Regions from separate parts of the Homo sapiens genome. Here region 1 is linked to region 2. Evidence: promoter capture Hi-C in 16 types of primary human blood cells and fetal thymus (Javierre and others, 2016). All regions are on one chromosome and are shown on one strand. The core of a region is centred on a gene start or on the middle of the fragment in contact, and the rest is flanking DNA. Distances in the headings are between cores, read along the strand shown. Region 1 overlaps LOC107986583 (a long non-coding RNA gene). Region 2 holds the start of H4C8 (H4 clustered histone 8).

Region 1 (4,092 bases), core at 1,091-3,590, 210 kb after region 2:
AGGAACTTCCCACAGATTTCTAAGAACAAAAACTGAAACAAAAAGCAAGTTCATGATTTACTGATAATGTTTCAGTAATCAGGTATTCACAGAAGGGAACAGTTGTTTCATTGTGTGTTTCATGCACACATTCCATCTTCCTTCCGACATCTTTAACTCAAATGATAATTTTTTTTTTCATTTTCTAAATACACTCATCAAAGGGCTTGAAAAATTCTGAGTTTTTACCCCTATTGTTCCACAGACAACAAACCTTTTATAAACCCCTCCGTTACTGCAAAATGGAAAAGAGCACAATTGTGTCCAGGTCAGAGAGTCTTCACTTCTCCAGGATTCTGAGCTCCTTCCTCCCAAGGGCTCAAGGCCTCACGATATATGAAAATGAAGAATATTTGAGACCCTGTCTCTACCAAAAAAAGGAAAGTAGGGTGAAGTCAGGACAATAATGAATTCATAGGCTGCTCCTAAGATGTCTAAGTCTTGCATTTTCACATTTATCATAGCCTGTCCTCGCGCGGGAGAATGTACACCTGTTTTGGAAGGATCTACCCCACCAGGTAACAGTAAGAAAGACTAAGATGAACAGATATGGAAGATAGCTCAGAGGCTGCAATGGGATAAATTCTGGGCAGAACTCAAACAGTGGTCCACGCAACCTTGATCCCTTCCCTGAACTCTTTCTCTCTTACTCAATCCAACCTCAATTTATTGGCTCCCATAAGTTCCCTGTCTACCCCTCTTGTTCTAGGAACTCTCCATTTCAAAAGTACTTCCAAGAATATAATTCAGGGACGTCCACACTCTACCAGATCTCAGCCTTTTGCTTCCCCAGGGCAAACCCCTGCTAACCCCTCTTCCACACAGAAGTCCACCATCTTCATCTCCACACCATCTTCACTTCACTTCCCCTCCACCTTCACATATGCAAGCTGTTGTGCATAAATTACACAAATTATAATTATAACATTATACAAACTCTGTATGTATAATTTTAACACGGGCTTGGTAAATAGCGGAATTATGTCACTGTAATAATGTTGAAGCACCATTAGGTCATATCTGATTATTACTACCATATCAATAGTGTGTGCCCCCAAGAAAGAGCAGCTGACCACAAAGCTCACTAGTAAGCCACAGAAGAATACAGTATTGTACATGATGCCCATTCACCCCAGTCCTTTGTCTTGGCTCAGTATGGCCACATGTATAACAAGCCCAAGACCTTGAGCCACAACCATCCCTCAGAGGCATCTCCATAATTCATGCAAAGCTGGTAGCTGCCTCTTCACAGAAAGCTTCTGAATAAGGAGCAAGATAAAGAGCTATAGCTGGGTGGGTGCAGTGGCACGTGCCTGTATTCCTAGCTACTGGAGAGGCTGAAGTGGGAAGTCCCTTGAGCCCAGGAATTTTGAGTCCAGCCTGGGCAACATAGCAAGACCACCCCCCAACCCCACACCCTACACCGAACACCACCCCCACTCAAGAAAGAGAAAAAAAAAAAGAGCTGTAGGCAGTAGATCTTGCCCTGTGGACCTGTGGACCAGAGCAACTAGCAGTGAGAATCCTGGTCCTATTCCAGACCTACTAAATCAGAATCTCTTTTTCAGTAAGACCCAAGTGCTGCTCTGGGAAGAATGAAGAGAGGGGATTGATAAATTACCTGATATGCTTGACTATGGAAACTGTGCTTAGAGTCAATTAGAGGAGTGGGAAAAACCTGTGAGGGGAATAAAGAAAACTAAACAAAGGAACAAAAATGAATCATTTCACCCCCTCCCTACTCCTAAAAAAACAAGAGGTTGTACATGAAAATAAATGTAATCATATATGATACTTGGTCCCGTAAAACTATAGTTACATAGCCACAGTATTGGAAATATGGAACAGAATTTGTGATGTATTACTACTGGTGGTATAAGAGAGCTAAATCATAATTGATCATAATAGGGTATAGAAAAGTAATATCTAGAAATGGATATATAGAGAAATAGCAGCATAAATATGGTATTGTCTCTAGAAATATGCAGATAAGTACCAGATAAAACAACTGAGCACTTAAAGAAGCTGTTTCTGGGGATTCAGGAGTAATAGGTTGGAAGTGGGAAGTGGAACTGACATTTCTTAAAAGCACTTTGTCCCATTTGGTTTTTTTTTTAAATACATGTAATACATATAAAGAGCTTTTTTAAAAACTTTGACAGAATGATATTGTCTTGAGAAATATGTAGATAAGTACCACATAAAACAACTGAACCACATTTAAAAAGAAAAGACGTTGACTGGGCGTGGTGGCTCACACCTGTATTCCCAGCAGTTTGGGAGGTCAAGGCAGCCAGATCACTTGAGGTCAGGAATTCAAGACCAGCCTGGCCAACACGGTGAAACCCCATCTCTACTAAAAGTACAAAAATTAGCCAGGCATGGTGGTGCATGTCTATAATCCCAGCTACTTGGGAGGCTGAGGCACGAGAATCGCTTTAACCCAGGAGGTTGTAGTAAGCCGAGATTGTGCCACTGCACTCCAGCCTGGGCGACAGAGTAAGACTCCGTCTCAAAATAAATAAATAGACTCAAATGGTTGCCTCAGTGATGAAAGTCAAGTAAGATGAGAACGAGAGTAACCATTGAATTTGACATGAGGATAACACTGAGAAATTTGAACAGATTATAGTGAAAAGCAGGGAGGGGAAACAAATGCTGACATTTTATCATTAGGTTCCATATGAAGCATATCATATTCCTCAGCCCAAATGATTTCATGTCTAAGAAGAAGAAGTTTTTGTTTCTATCTCGCAGTGGGCCTGGGAAGAGCAGGAACTTCCTAAGAGCAGCACCACTTCACAAGGCCTCTCCCATTCAGGAACCATGACAGGCAGGGGCATCCTAGGGGCATCCTAGAGGTTCTGTTCTCTAAACCTTGGGAAATTTAGAGATCCTGTCTTTCATTGTGTAAGACTGATGACTTGGTTTCTGTCAAAAAGACCCAGATGCTATCCAATCAAAATAGTGTCTGTTATGCAATAGCTTGAGCTCCAAGTACTTTCTTCTTCTTTCCCCCAGACCCTTTCTTTTCAGTATGGCTCCGTTAGTTGCAAGTAAAAGCTCTTTTTCCCCCCTGAAAACAATGTCTTATGAGAATATGAAGCATGAGACAAAAGTATCATTGAAAGGGGCTGATAAGAGAAGTGAAATGAGGAAGGGGAAATAGATTATAGGTGATATGATCAGAAAGTTAAGCATGAAGAGGAAAATGGGACAGGAGCCTTTCAAACTAGGAAGGCTAAGGAACGATGGGTTTGAATGAAGCCACAAATTCTATTTCAGTCTATGTGCTGATGAGAAGACAGGGAGTAAGAACTAGGAAAGCTCAGTTTAAGAGGGGAAGACAAGCTTGGAAACAAAAGATGACAATAAACACATCTGCTTCTGAAACTAGGGCTCAGATCAGGTGTCTGCCATGAGAAAGGGACCAAGTGTCACAGGATACACCTGGCCCATCTTCCAGGAAAGCCTACTTCTCTTGGAGGGGACAAAGGCTAATCAGGAGAAGCCCTAGAAGTGAGGTTGCATCTGCTTGATGCAATGTCTGAAAGACATTGCAGAAGGTGCAGCCCTTACATGAGCTTTTGAGGGAAGAATAGGAGTTCATCATAAAGATAAGAGGGAACAGGCTAGTCGCGGTGGCTCACACCTATAATCCCAGCACTTTGGGAGACCGAGGCGGGTGTATCACTTGAGGTCAGGAGTTCAAAACCAGCCTGGCCAACATTGGGAAACCCCACCTCTACCAAAAATACCAACAAAGCCAGGCGTGGTGGGGCACGCCTGTAGTCCCAGCTACTTGGGAGGCTAAGGCAGGAGAAATGCTTGAACCTGGGAGTCAGAGGTTGCAGTGAGCTGAAATTGTGCCACTGCCCTCCAGCCTGGGTGACAAAGTGAGACTCCATCTCAAAAAAAAAAAAAAAAAAAAGTTAAGAAGAGACAGAATATTCTGGAAGGGGGAAGGCAAGCACTGCTATCTGGAGGCCTGAGAGGCATTGTGGGTTGAGGTAACCACACCCACTCCAAATTCAGCCTGTGGGTGGACAAGCA
Region 2 (4,270 bases), core at 31-2,530:
CAACATGGTGAAACCCCATCTCTACTAAAAACACAAAAATTAGGCGGGCGGCTGTAATACCAGCTATTCAGGAGGCTGAGGCAGGAGAATCGCTTGAAACTGTAAGGCGGAGGTTGCGGTGAGCCGAAATCGCGCCACTGCACTCCAGCCTGGATGAAAGAGCAAAACTCCGTCTCAACAACAACAAAATAAGTTATGGTGATGTTTCTATATTGCTCACTAAGCGGTACCCTACCTTTTAATATTTTCGTAATATTCAAAAACACATTTTAAGTCTATTGGAAACAATACTTGCAAGCTCTCAAGTGAACATTTATATTGTTACCCCACACTGCCTTTTGTAGACGAGTTTTGTCACCAAGTCAAAAGCAGCAGCGCGCACGCCGCCTGGACTTGGGTCTGCGATCCTACTCACGCAGATGTGTTGCGCTCACGGATTCGCCTTGGTTTAAGGCCCGCCGTCTGGGTGCGAGCTTTCTTTGTTTTTAGCCCTTCCCGCCATTTTGGAAAGGGTAACTTGCAGTCTCTCCGCGAAGTTTCCAACTTCTGTAGTCTTTGAGAACCTTACGAACGCTTCAAGCTTAAACTGAAGGAGGAAGGCCCACGGGAATTATAAACTGTCACAATCCAGCTTACTCACTGATATCTAGTGTTAAAATGCCACAAGAAAGCTAAACATATTCAACATACCAACTTCCCTCAAGCAGAAAACAGTGGCTTTAAGTACTTTATGCCCAAATCCTAAACATGCGAGATTAAGCACGAGTAATTAAACGTTACCTGCAAATCTACACATGTGCACAGTAACTACTTCTCAGCAAAAATCTGGAACAAAGCAGGATAACAAGATGTCTGCTCTTTTATGAAAAAAGTGGGCGGCCCTGAAAAGGGCCTTTGGTTGAAAATGAAAATAAGAGTGCAGCAAGCAGGAGCCTTAGCCACCGAAGCCGTAAAGAGTGCGTCCCTGTCGCTTCAGCGCGTAGACCACATCCATTGCTGTCACGGTCTTGCGTTTGGCGTGCTCTGTGTAAGTGACAGCGTCACGAATCACGTTCTCCAGGAACACCTTCAGAACACCACGAGTCTCCTCATAGATAAGGCCAGAAATTCGCTTGACACCGCCGCGACGAGCAAGGCGCCGGATAGCTGGCTTAGTGATGCCCTGGATGTTATCGCGCAAAACCTTGCGATGACGCTTAGCTCCTCCCTTACCCAAACCTTTTCCACCTTTACCACGGCCAGACATGACTAAGCAACTTCTAAAACCAACTTAAGAAACCTAAACGCCAAGGCAAAGCAACGCCCTTATATGCCGGGAATTCGGACCTAATTGAAGACTGAAAGCGCGCATACCGGAACTTTGGTCCTGCTTCTTGGCCCCACCCCGCATAGCCCAGCCCTGGATGACGTCACCAACGACTCCAGCCTTTGGCATCTGAGCGCCGGCTCCGCGGAGGCGTCTCTTGCAATTGCTGGGAAATAGGAATGAGAGTTTTAAGGCTGTTTTAACAACCAAATCAGATTAAATAAATTAACATGTTTAAATTGTTATCAATTGTTCCTTCAGTTGCTTTAGGACGATTGGAGAGGAGCCTCGGTCCACAAGACCGGAAGCCTGAGGAGTGCAGCTTTGTCCCCAAGGTCACAGTGACTGGCTTTCTGCTGCCGGCTGTAAAGCACATGCGGACCGAAACCCCCCTTCGGAAGTGTTTGAAAACTGCAAGATTTCACCCTCTCCATCACCAAGCCAAGGGAAACATAACCAAAAGGGTTTTCTTCCCGATGGCGAAGGCATGATAGGTTAGTGATTCGTGGTAGAATTATTGCCCTCCGCGCGGAGGCCTGATTCTATTCCCAGTTTGTTCTCTTCTTTCCCTGCTTATTAAAATTTGTAATTGCCATTTAAATATCTAACTGCCCCTCACAACTGCACCCAGTGTGTAGGTTTCGGGGTGGGGGTTTTTTTTTTTCCTTTTTTTAATTTTATTGAGACAGGGTCTCGCTATGTTGCCTGCCTGGGTCTTCCAAAGTGCAGTGACTACAGGCGTGAGCTACCGCGCCTAGCCCACCAGTGTATTGATATTTATTTTTCTATCCCTAGTTTTGTTTTCTGTTTGATTCTGGTGATTCCTTTTTCCAAAGTGAGTTGGCAACCTGTGGTAGCCAAAGAAGTAGGCAACTGCTCGTAGGTTTTTTCTTAAATTACGAGGTAGTCTGAACGCATCTCCTGTAAGTAGTTAAGAGTACTGTGAGACCGTGTGCCTGGCAGAACAGCAGAGTGGCGCAGCGGAAGCGTGCTGGGCCCATAACCCAGAGGTCGATGGATCGAAACCATCCTCTGCTAGGTCCTTTTTTTTTCTCCCCCCCCGTCTATTTTCCTGAGGATCCCTTTTTTTTAAGTTACAGTTTTTTAGGTTAAACAATGACGAAAGAAAACAAAATGAACCCGAGTATTTCTTTAATTCCAGAATTACAAGCATTTCCGGGAAATAATGTGAAACTACAATCTCTGCATGTACAATTTTGATTTTCATGGACACCCAAGTGTCATTAATCAATATGTCATCTGTAAACAAAGCAAATTTCTCTTGTTTAGAGGCTATACCACTGTTGCAGCCAGTTATGACAGTTGTAAGTTAACCTGCCAAGCAAGGAGAATGCTTACATAAACTGAGTGCCAAGGGTGGGGTGGGGTGGGAGCCCAGGAATGGAGTTTTATATCTTTTGATACATAATTCAGAAAGCACTATTTGCCAAGTAGTTAAGGCAATCGACTAGGAATTCCTAAATCCCCACACAGATTCTTTTCACCTACAAGGATCTTAATCTCGGAAAATGAGTTGCATTTTGAGGTGGGTGTGGAGTCTTCATAGCACTGATTGAACTCTGACCTGAGAAAAACATTTTTGCGGACCCTACTGGTAAATGTGTCTCTACTCTCTACCATCCTTTAATATCTCAAATAGAACTATTCGCTGTGCTTATTTTTTAAACATATGTGTGGACTGCTTTATGCTTCTCTCTCTCAGAAAGGATTCCTATTCAGATATTTATGTGTCACATACTGTATTAGGAACTAAGAAAAAAAAAAAACCTTAAGTAGTCTACAGTCTAGATATGCTTTTGTTGTTTTTGTTTTTTGTTTTTTGTTTGTTTATTTGTTTTTGAGATGAAGTCTCACTCTTGTTGCCCAGGCTGGAGTGCAGTGGCACGATCTTGGCTCATTGCAACCTCCACCTCCTGGGCTCAAGAGATTCTCCTGCCTCAGCCTCCCAAGTAGCTGGGATTACAGGTGCCTGCCATCACACTCAGCTAATTTTTGTATTTTTAATAAAGGCAGGGTTTTACCATGTTGGCCAAGCTAGTCTTGAACTCCTAACCTCAGGCAATCCGCCAGCCTTGGCCTCCCAAACTGCTGGGATTACAGGCTTAAGCCAACGCACCTGGCCCATATGCTTTTAAACAAGTAAATATGTAGAGTGCAATACAGTAATTCTGTGAAAGGATTGTACACTAAGTGCACTGGGAATAAGGAAAATAGTGCTTGTAATCCCATGACCACCCACTAATTCAGTAATTCACCAGAAGTAATCACATGACTCAGCATACTCTCAGTTAAGATTTATTATATCTATTGACCATTTTTTGTTTGGGTTAAAGAACATGTTTTAAAAATAAAAACAAAAAAGATTCATTACAGCACAGGATACAATGCAAGAAAAGCAGAAAAAATATGTATATACACAGGTAAATGTGGCTGTTACTATAGGACTGAATGAAGGAGGATGAACACAGAAATGAAGACAAAGACAAAAGGATTTGTTTAAAAGAAGGGGTCAAGGGGCTCCTAGCTTCTAGAGAACAAGGGCCCTGAGCTTCTACAGCCCTTCGTATTTATTAGGTAGAGTGAACAAGGAGGAAGGGGTAACTGTCGGTCAGCTACTGGATTTATCACAGGCTGACGATTGCTTTCTTTGTTCAACAGACTCTAGATATTCCTATAGATAACCTTAAGGAACACGGTGCCTGGGACGTGATTGCTCTCAGCATTCCTTCTAGTGGCAGATGCACTTGTCAGTTTGCCAGCATGCTGCTTTCATGAGAACAGTTTGCTGTTTGCTCATATACCCTCCAGTGGTATATTGAGTTGGTCACGTCCCTCATTCCTTTGGCCTCCAACATCTCCCCCTTTTTGTTTTTGCATTAATTGAATAAAGGCAATTCCAGACTGCAGCTTTCAATTGCCAGTTGGTGGTCCAGCCGATTTTAC

Evidence for each region. The method cuts DNA at HindIII sites, captures the fragments that hold promoters and counts their contacts. A CHiCAGO score of 5 or more calls a contact.
Region 1: a contact is called between a fragment that was not itself captured here and the fragment with the promoter of H4C8 in region 2, in 1 of 17 cell types (megakaryocytes). The highest score is 5.0, in megakaryocytes.

What each region holds. Positions count from the first base shown.
Region 1 is chr6:26,494,221-26,498,312 of GRCh38, forward strand. The region is part of intron 1 of LOC107986583 (a long non-coding RNA gene); the gene reads right to left. Among named protein-coding and RNA genes, the nearest start is that of BTN1A1, 4.0 kb to the right of the region's middle. The HindIII fragment of the contact is 2,095 bases long and covers 1,294-3,388 here.
Region 2 is chr6:26,284,254-26,288,523 of GRCh38, forward strand. It overlaps H4C8 (H4 clustered histone 8), which reads right to left and starts at 1,281. Exons shown (of 1, transcript NM_003543.4): 1 at 873-1,281. The coding sequence starts at 1,246. The coding sequence ends at 935. It overlaps TRX-CAT1-2 (tRNA-iMet (anticodon CAT) 1-2), which reads left to right and starts at 2,273; the gene lies at 2,273-2,344. LOC124901287 (a long non-coding RNA gene) reads left to right here and starts at 1,427. Exons shown (of 2, transcript XR_007059520.1): 1 at 1,427-1,800. RefSeq lists enhancers at 122-857, 566-1,765, 858-1,593, 972-1,131, 1,282-1,671 and a silencer at 2,012-2,061. The HindIII fragment of the contact is 3,784 bases long and covers 579-4,270 here.